2 separate regions of the Homo sapiens genome follow, and region 1 is linked to region 2. Evidence: promoter capture Hi-C in human tissues and cell types (Jung and others, 2019). All regions are on one chromosome and are shown on one strand. Each heading gives the region's core, a stretch centred on a gene start or on the middle of the fragment in contact. The rest is flanking DNA. Distances are from core to core; before and after follow the strand shown.

Region 1 (5,119 bases), core at 362-2,861, 1.4 Mb before region 2:
TCAAGCAACCCATGGAGAGGCCCACATGGCAAGGCCAGCCAACAGTTTGCACCACCTTGCCAGCTGTGTGAGTGCACCACCTTGGGTGCAGGTCTGCCAGCCCCAGTCAAGACTTCAGATGAGTGTAGTCCAAGCTGACACATGATCGCAGCCTCCTGAGAGACCCTGAGCAAGAAATGCCCAGCTGAGCTGCTCTCGAATTCCTGGCCTGCAGAAATTGCAACATAATAAATGTTTATTGTTTTAAGCCAGCAGGTTTTGGGGTAATCTTTTACACAGCAAAAGATAACATGCCAGCCAGCCCCTCCACCACCAGAACTCTCCTGCAGCCTCTCACTGCAGCCATTTGCTCCAGCTTTGTTAAGAAAAATTACCCAAAACTTGGAAATAGGCAAAGACAGGGCAGCAGGTCTTTTCAATGTCATATTGGGGTGTTGTTTAGCAGGCCCACTAAGGGTATCTGCTATGGTCTGAATGTTTGTGTCTTTGCAAAATTCATATGTTGAAATTTAATCACCAATGGGATGGGGTTAGGAGGAAGGGCCTTTAGGAGGTCATTGAATCATGAGTGTGGAGTCCTCATGAATAGAATTAGTGTCTTTATAAAAGAGGCCCCAGAAAGCTGCCTTGCCCCTTCCACCAAGTGAAGACACAGCGGGAAGGCACCATCTATGAGAACACGGGCCCTCACCAGACGCCTTGATCTTGGATTTCCCAGCCTCCAGAACCGTGAGAAATAAATATCTGTGGTTTATGCATTACCCAGTTTATGGTATTTTGTTATAGCTCCCCAAACAGACTAAGATAGTATTTAATTATCTAGAGGAAGGTACCTTTGACTTAGTATGAGCCATTAGAAGACCAGACTTTAGAAGTTATATGTTAATATATAGATTTCTGTCCAGTAGAAAATGCCCCAAAAGTTACGGACTTCTGGCCCATCAGGACATTAACCAGTTTTGTATCTCACTGAGCCATTGTATTCCAGTATTCTTTTCCCAGTATTCTGTAGTGCTATTCCTCTACTTCTCCTTTGAATCAGCTTTATCTTCTTACTGGTTCCCTCATTCAGGAGTTAAACAAATTTTGACATGTGTTCAACCTATATTTGAATGAGAGTTATGCTTTTACTCTATTTTTTTTGAAATTATACTTTGACAGCTTACGTGTGCCCCGGAAATAGGGAACTCACTACCTATCAAGGAACTTGGGGATCTTAGAACAGCTCCTAAAACAGGCTTAGGGCTTCTTCCTTATTCTCATAGCTGCACCCTCTGTCCCTGGTTCTCCCTTTGAGAAAACCTCAGGAAGTGAGCCGAACCCCTAATTCCCACAGCAGCTCATCAAATTTGGTAATTTCCTATCGCTTTGCACTCTAGACTACATATTTTGTGTTCAGAAAAAGAAGTCATTAAATAAATAATAAAAATTGAGATCTAAATTTTACTTCCATGAGTTGAAGAAGAATGGATCCGAGAAAAGAGCCATTTATTGATGCTGCTGTGTACAGGCCTGTGCAGTTCGAAGAACTGGAGATTGGCAGGGGTCCACTCTGACCCTCCACCCATTCCCTTCTCCCCATGCTCTAGGGGGATCTCGGATGAAATCTTTAGCCCCCGTCCCTAATCCCCTTCATGGCCTCTGGCTCTTGGAATAAAGGTCAGATCCCTGCTACAATGTCCTCTGTGGCCTGGCCCTGCCCCCCTCCTTCTTGTCTCACACCGAGCTCCCCGTCAGCATCTTCATTCCATTGGCACTCTCACTCCCTCAGGTTCACGAGGATCCCTTGCACTGCCTGACCTTTGCTTACGCCGTTCTAGCTCCCCATGGCAGTGCACCCTTCATCTGTAGGAGCACTTCCCCTCGCCTTGATCATTCTCTGTCCCCAGGGAGGTTCTCCAAGCGCCTATTCTCCATCACTCCCGCCCCCCACTCCCACACTCATTAGGTGGTAATTTGACCTTTGCTTGTGGGATGATTTGATAGTGCTGGCTTCCCTTGCTGGGTTGCAGGTCACAGAGGGACAGGGACTGCTTCTGCCTTGTCCTACCTTTTGTCTCCAGGATTCGCAGTAGGCGCAAGTGAGAAGTGGACACTCAGAGCCCTGGAGTCCAGGGCCTGGCACCAAGGAAGCAGCAGGGGGAGTTTGCTGAGCAAACAAATAAAGATTTCATCACAAGTTGGGGCAGAACAGGAGGCTGATACCTACGTCCTGGGCTCCAGGGCTGGCGCTCCTCCCACAGCCCTGTGCATGGAGCGCCCAGTGAGGGCCAGATTGTTTCCTGTCACTCTGAATGGAAATGACATGGCCTCTGTGCACCCCCATGAGCTGTGTCTCAGATTATGTGAAGTACAATAAAAATGCCCTGTTTTTTTCTCTAAAGAGAGCAACTTACTAGCCACAAGAGACGTCTTGACACCCACTCACACCCAGCTCAGAGAGTTTTCTTTATTTAAAAAATATATATCACAACATAGGTAAAAACAGAGAATGTGTTGAAGTGTGGTGATTACAAAGTGGAAGCCTCCTGCCATTCCACTCCCAAAGTAACCACTGCTGACCATCCCGCATATACTATCTTCCCATGAAAGATTTTTCCCATGAAAAATTCCCCACGTGAATTTCCACAGTCCACTCTTTCCTGGGGCCTGCTCTGGGCCGGGCTACTTGATATATTAAGCATCAAAGTACCCCTAAGGGAGGTACTTGATTTTTATCCCCATTTCATGGATGGGGAAACTGGAATACACAGAGAGGTTGAGTCGGTTGCCCAAGGTCCTACAGCCGGTAAGTGGCAGAGCTGGGATTTGAACCCGGGCAGCAGGTTCAAGAGTCTAGATGTCAGATCCTCTTGGTTTCATGCAGGTATCTACACTTGAGGTGGATGGCACAGCTGTTCAAGGGTGGGGGTCTGGACTTTGACGGTGACTCTGCTCCTTCCTAGCTTTGTGACCTTGGGCAATTGACTAGACCTCTCTGTTCCTTGGCGTCTTCATCTGTAAAATGGGGATGTGGTAGTCCTGCTTTCTGGATAGTTGTGTTAGTGGGCAGGAAGTGCCTGGAACAGAGGTGGAGAGGCAGTAGATGCTCAGTCACCTGGAGTCATGTGTCAGGTGACACGTCACAGTCACCAGTGCTACCCACACCAGGCCTGAGGCGTTCTCTGGACCTGAAGACCCACACCTCCTGCTGTCCTGACACCAGCCTGGGTCCGGCACAAGTGGAGACACCTCACCTCCTCTTTACTGACAGCCCAGGGCCTGCACCCAGGCTTTCTGGATTCTGACAGGTGTCACCTCCCACTGCCACCTTCACAGCAGCTGCCTCACTCCAGGAACCCTGCCAGGACCTGTCTGCCCATCACAGTCCACCCAGGGCTTGGAGGGCTTAGAGCTTTGGTGTCTAATGTTCCCGAGCTCGAATCCAGGCCGTGGCTCTTGCTGCTGTGGCACCTTGCACAGTTTCCTTCCCATTCTCAGGGGAGAGGGCAGAGCAGGTGCTCAGTGAAACAAACAGGCCTCAGTTTCTCATCTGTGAAATGGGGATGCTTGGTGCTGGTGTTGATAAGCCTCATAGGATGGAGAGGACAAACTGAGATAACATTGGCATGATGCCCATCTGGCAGCACGTGTCTACGAGATGTTGGCTGTGAGCACGATCTCGTTTTCTCCTCACCACAGTTTCCCGAGTTGGGACTTAACAGCCACGATTTACAGGTGAGGAAACTGAGGCTTACCGAAGGCAGTGAACGGTCCAAAGTCATATTTCTGACATTTGATGAACTCAGGAGGGCTGCTGGCTCTGAGGTAGCCACCCGCAGCCCCCATCCTCCCCTTACACCTCTCAGCTTCCGCCCCTCCCACTACGGCTTAGCACCCCCCTCCACAGGGACACTGGGCCAATTGGGAGGGCTTGGGGCGGGAGAGGCCACAGATGCCAAGAGGGAGAGACCTAGAACTGACCAAAGGGACTCTAGGCTCCCCAAATCTTGGAGTGGCAGCAGCAGACATGCTCAGAGATCATGGCCCCAGAGCTCCTGTCCATCCAACCCTCTCCGCAGGTACCCAAGCCAGCCCACCCAGTTTCCGCTAGGCGGTGCCTCAGCCTCTGACCTGCAGCCCCCGCTGCACCACAGGTCAGCACTGCTCAGGCTGGTGGGAAAGCATCTAGTCCAGGAAAGTCCAGGGGTAAAGCCCACTGCAGCCTCCCCATTTTCCTAGGAGCAGGTGACCAGCTGAGGCCCTGTTCCCGGAACGGTCATCCCTACTATTTTGACACAGGCTTATCAAGTCCTACCTCTGCATGTGCCAGAACTTTACACAACCAGGACAATTAATCCTCCCAAAAATGCTGTGCAGGGAAGGCTATGATTAACCACGGACAGAGAAACTGAGGCACAGAGCAGTGACATGGCCTGCCCAGGCACACGCAGCAGCAAGTGGCGCACAGACACCAACCTCAGTCAGTCTGACACCTGCAGCCACACGCGTAACCCCCATACTCTGGCGAAACTTCAGCGCCAGAGGGGCCCTGACACAGAGTCTGGCCCAGGGACCCTCAACCCCAGCTGTTCAGTTGAATCACTGGGAAGAGTTTAAATGGTGTCCATCCCAGAATCAATTAAGTATATGTTTCAAAAGATCCCCAAGCTGGGCGTCGTGGCTCACACCTGTAATCCCAGCCCTTTGGGAGGCCGAGGCAGGCAGATCACTTGAGGCCAGGAATTCAAGACCGGCCTGGCCAACGTGGTGAAACTATGTCTCTATTAAAAATACAAAAATTAGCTGGGGATGGTCTCCTGTGCCTGTAATCCAGTCAGGAGGCTGAGTCAGGAGAATTGCTTGAACCCAGGAGGCGGAGGTTGCAGTGAGCCGAGATCACACCACTGCACTCCAGCCTGGGTGACAGAGCGAGACTCCATCTCAAAAATAAAACAAAAATAAAACTAATAAAATAAAATAAAAACAAAAATAAAAATAAAAGATCCCCTGTGTAGCTGGGACTGAGAATCACTGATGGGACCAAGCCTCTCATTTTACAGGTGGGATGACAAAGGCCCAGAGAAGGCAAGTGATGTGTTCTAGTCCGTGATACTAGACCTGGCTCTTGCAGTCCCTC
Region 2 (4,898 bases), core at 42-2,541:
GCATGGTGACTTGCACCTCTGGTCCCAGCTACTCAGGAGGCTGAGGCAGGAGGATCACTTGAGCCCAGGAATATAAGGCTGCAGTGAACTAGGATATTGCCACTGCACTCTAGCCTGGGTGACAGAGAAAGACCCTGTCTCTTTAAAAAAAAAAAAAATAGACATAGCAAAATGGGTGTAAGGCATGACTAGGCCAGGTGTGGTGGCTCACATCTGTAATCCCAGCACTTTGGGAGGCTGAGGTGGGCCAACTGCTTGAGCCCAGGAGTTCAAGACCAGCATGAGCAACATGGTGAAACACCATCTCTACAAAAAATACAAAAATTAGCCAGGCATGGTAGCGCATGCCTGTTGTTCCAGCTACTCAGGAGGCTGAGGTGGGAGGATCACTTGAGCCAGGGAGGTCGAGACTGCAGTGAGCTGAGATCATGCCACTGCACTCCAGCCTGGGTGACAGAGCGAGACCCTGTCTTAAAAAAAGTTAATAAATAAGGAAAAGACATGTCTAGATACAAAAAGGGAGACCTCATAGGCCAGAAAGTGGCTTTTTAGCCTGAGCAATGTCATTATTCTTGTGAGCATGAGAAGAGGCATCACCCCTGCGGCCTTACACAAATTCTGGTGTGCGTGAGTCTGGCCCAGGGTGCAAAAGCCCCAACCAGCCATCAATCTGCACCCCAGCCACGCCACCCTGGTGTCCCAGAATATACAGGGACATCTCAGGCTGTGCACCATGGGCTGGGGCATGTTCCTGGGGTTTCTCTGCCAGCTCAGCCCCTAGGGCTGTGACTCATCCTCCACATAACTGATCCCAACATGTTTGTGAGCATCTCAAGGACAGGGTCCTCTGTCTACTCATTTTGGTTTTCCATGTAGACATCTGTCAGGTTTTTTTGGACGCCCAGCCTCTGAAACTTTTCCCCTACATGAGTCTTGAGGGAGGCAAAAGGTACCTCCCATTATAAAAGCCGAAATGGCCAAATACTTAATTCCAACCTCCCTCACCAGCACTTCATGCAGGCATACATGGACTAGGTCGATCAGATGTCCCCACCCAGAAGGGGTGACCCGCACACCTTTGGCTTCCATCTGCCAGCTCTGCCCTCTCCTGGCATCACACTCTGCTCCCAACTCTCAGAACACCTTGCACAACTTCTCTGTTAGAAAAAAATAAAAACTACTTCCCCTCTATCCGCACTTCCCAACCTACTCTGGTGATCATGGGCTTTCCTTGGCTTGGGTCTCTGGTCTGGGTCAAGGCATCTGCTCAGGTTCCTCAGTTAGAAGACCATGGTCCTCCCTTTGTGCTACCTCCCCAGGGCATGTGGGACAAAGTGACATCACATTTAGGCCTGTGACATCACAGGGCATGGAGGCTGACAAGACAGATGATCTGGGAGACGAGAGCAAGGAAGGGCTTGGCAGGCAGAGGCTGCTCCATGTGGGAACCTGAGGGAGTCTGTCTTAGCCCACCTCCTGGGACATTTCCTTGCCAAGCCGAGTCTTGTGAGCATGAGAAGAGGCATAACCCCTGTGGCCTCACACAAATTCTGGTGTGCGTGAGTCTGGCCCAGGGTACAAAAGCCCCAAGCAGCCATTAATCTCCACTGCAGCCCAGTAGACTAGCAGATCAGAAGCTAGTGCCACTGGCTGAGCGCAGTGGCTCACGCCTGTAATCCCAGGACTTTGGGAGGCCGAGGCGGGCAGATCACTTGAGGTCAGGAGTTCAAGACCAGCCTGGCCAACATGGTGGGACCCCATCTCTACAAAAATACAAAAATTAGCCAAGTGTGGTGGCACGTGCCTGTATTTCCAGCTACTTGGGAGACTGAGGCAGGAGAATTGCTTGAACCCGGGAGGCGGAGGTTGCAGTGAGCTGAGATGGCTCTGCTACACTCCAGGCTGGGCAACAGAGTGAGGCTCCATCTCAAAATAAAATAAAATACAATAAAAAAAGCCACTGGTCCTGAGGTGGCAGGTCTGTGGAAACTCCTCTCTACAACAAAGGCTGTGGTACCACATCCGGCTTCCAGGGCAGTGAAGGAAAGAAGGGGGTTCAGGGGAGGCTGCAGAATCTGTGCAGGGCTGGTCCTGGGGTGTGATATTTGGCCATGGTCCTGTCTACTTCCAGCCTCCCTTGATCCATCCTATTCTCCAAGCCTTGCTCTCCAGCCTTCTCAGACCTCCTGCGAGCTTTTCTAACATCTTTTAAACAAATTCCTTCTGCTTAACTCCTCCTGAAATGGTTTTTGTAGCTTACAACTGATAATTCTGCATTATACATGCCCAGAATAGAAGATAAAGTAACAGGGTTCCAGCTGGAATTGTCCAAGGAACAGAGTAAATAGCCACCTTTACAAACAGCTTTCTTGCTGTGTCTGGCACTGTGCTAGGGGCTTCATAAACTTTATCTCATTTAGTCTTCACAATAAGCCTGTGTGGTGGATTTTATTATTAGCAGCTCATCCAGAGTCACACAACAAGTAGCCAAGAGCTCTTTAGTGGTAAACCTCAGACTCTGCCATCTCTTGGCCATGTCAGCTTCCCCCACTACGACAGCCACCCCCTCATTTCTTTCTTTCTTGCTCTCTCTTCCCACATGCTGTTCCCAGTCCTTCCCCCAACTCCTCAGTGGCCCCCTCAGTATCCTTCAGCGTAATGGAGGGGCTTAGTTCACCAAAACTCTACTCCCTAAAAGGAAGAGCCCTCTCAGACCCCCAGGCCACAAGCCCGCCTCCCCTGCTGTCTTGCTGGGAATCACAGGGAAGTGAGGGGCACCGAGTGAAGTTTCCTCCCCTCCAAGGCACTTCCCCACACACCTTTGGCTTCCATCTGCCAGCTGTGCTCCCTCCTGGCATCACACTCTGCTCCCAGCTCTCAGAACACTTTGCACAACCTCTCTGTTAGAAAAAAATAAAAAAGGAAATGGCCTTGGAGATTTCCAGGTCTCCAATCCTGAAAGCTCCCTGGCTTGGCTAGGAAATGCCCCAGGAGGTGGGCTGAGGACAGACTCCCTCAGGTTCCCACGTGGAGAAGCCTCTGCCTGCCAAGCCCTTCCTTGCTGTCATCTCCCAGATCATCTGTCTTGTGTCATCCATGCCCTGTGATGTCACAGGCCTAAATGTGATGTCACTTTGTCCCACATGCCCTGGGGAGGTAGCACAGAGGGAGGACCATGGTCTTCTAACTGAGGAACCTGAGCAGATGCCTTGACCCAGACCAGAGACCCAAGCCAAGGAAAGCCCATGATCACCAGAGTGGGTTTGGGAAGTGCGGACAGAGGGGGAGTAGGGAGCTGACTCCAGGTGCAAGGGGCACATTCGGGAGGCCTCTGAAGAGGAGGTGCCTCCACATTAGGGGACAAGAGCTGGAGGGGCTGGGTCCTTGGGCTCCCGGTGCTCACTGCACACTTTCTTCTTCCTTTCGTTAGTTGCAAAATAATACATACTAGTGGTAAACATTTCAAACAACAGAAAATGTAAAAACGAAAAATGGAAGCTCCTCCTCCTTCGCAATTTCCCAGTGGTCAATGTGAATTGTTTAGTGTTTACCCTTCCAGACATTTTTCTATGAACCAACAAACAGGTAAATTGATTTTTTTAATTGCTTTTTTTTTTCCTAAGGAATGAAGTGACTTATTGAAAATGAAAGTACACTCTGCAGTGTGGGAGCAGGCCTGAGCATAGGGGCTCAAAGGCCCCATTACAGAGTTTTTGAGAGTTTAAATACCTTCTGCTTGTGGTACGCCCTATGTAAATGAAGAGAATGAAGTAAAGTTACAATGTCATGTACTCAGGGAGAAGCTATTTCCTGTCAGAGCTGAAGTGTGAATTGGCCTTATGTTTCCTGCCTCCAGCCCCTATTTTCCTGCCTCATCTCCCCGCTAAGAGATGTGATTGTGGTCCCCGTAAATCTTCACGGGAGGCAGAGGGACCGATGGTCTTTTTCCTGGGACTGCTTCATGCTGGCATGGGGCGTAGTCCCTACTTATTGGGGATCATGGAACCCTCACCTTGTTCTGTCTAGTGGAGGCAGGGTAGCTTCTTGATGGCCAGGGGTGGTGTCTTCACCTGGACTGGCTGGAGCCTTTGTTGCATGATCATCTGAAGCTTGATGGCCTCCTTTTGCTGGTATGCCAGGTTTCTGGGCTCTCTTTCCCTGAGCGGCCCTTCCTCCGGGCTGGCTGGCCAAAATATGTCACTGGTGGGGGGTGTCCAGGTTCTTGGCATCTTGAACAAAGAATTGGACAAAAAGCAGAAACAAAGCAACGAAGAAATGAAGGGATTTATTGAAAATAAAGTACACTCCACAGTGTTGGAGTGGGCCTGAGCATAGGGGCTGAAAGGCTAAATTGTGTTTTATACAAACATGGGAATATATTGATGCACATTGCTCTTCCGGGTTTTCTTTTCTTTTCTTTTCTTTTTTTTTTTTTTTGAGACAGAATCTGACTCTGCCTCCCAGGTTGGAGTACAGTGGTGTGATCTTGGCTCACTAGCAACCTCTGCCTCCTGGGTTCAAGCAATTCTCCTGTTCAAGCTGGGACTACAGGCATGCGCCACCAAGCCCAGTTAATTTTTTTGTATTTTTAGTAGAGACGGGGTTTCACCACATTGGCCAGGCTGGTCTCAAACTCCTGACCTCAAGTGATCCACCCACCTTGGCCTCCCAAAGTGCTGGATTACACTTTGGGAGCCACCATGCCCAGTCTCTTCTGGGTTTTCTAATAATCCATTGTGGGCATCATTTCATGCCCTGAACATACCTATCTGCCTCCTGCTTTTTCCTGACTATATAATGTTCCATTGCAGGGTTGTGCTTAATATGTAGCCTTCCCCTGTTGGTGGACATACGGGTGGGATCCAATTTTCCCCTTTCTACACAAGGCTGGAAAAGAC

What was found. Contacts are between HindIII fragments. The study calls those that stand out against the background at their distance.
Region 1: a contact is called between a fragment that was not itself captured here and the fragment with the promoter of ZNF683 in region 2, in 1 of the 25 tissues and cell types used here (aorta).

Annotation. Positions count from the first base shown.
Region 1 is chr1:25,010,240-25,015,358 of GRCh38, forward strand. No RefSeq gene overlaps it. Among named protein-coding and RNA genes, the nearest start is that of MIR4425, 11 kb to the right of the region's middle. The HindIII fragment of the contact is 7,313 bases long and covers 1-5,119 here.
Region 2 is chr1:26,371,459-26,376,356 of GRCh38, forward strand. It overlaps ZNF683 (zinc finger protein 683), which reads right to left and starts at 1,292. Exons shown (of 6, transcript NM_001114759.3): 1 at 1,211-1,292. The HindIII fragment of the contact is 13,714 bases long and covers 1-4,898 here.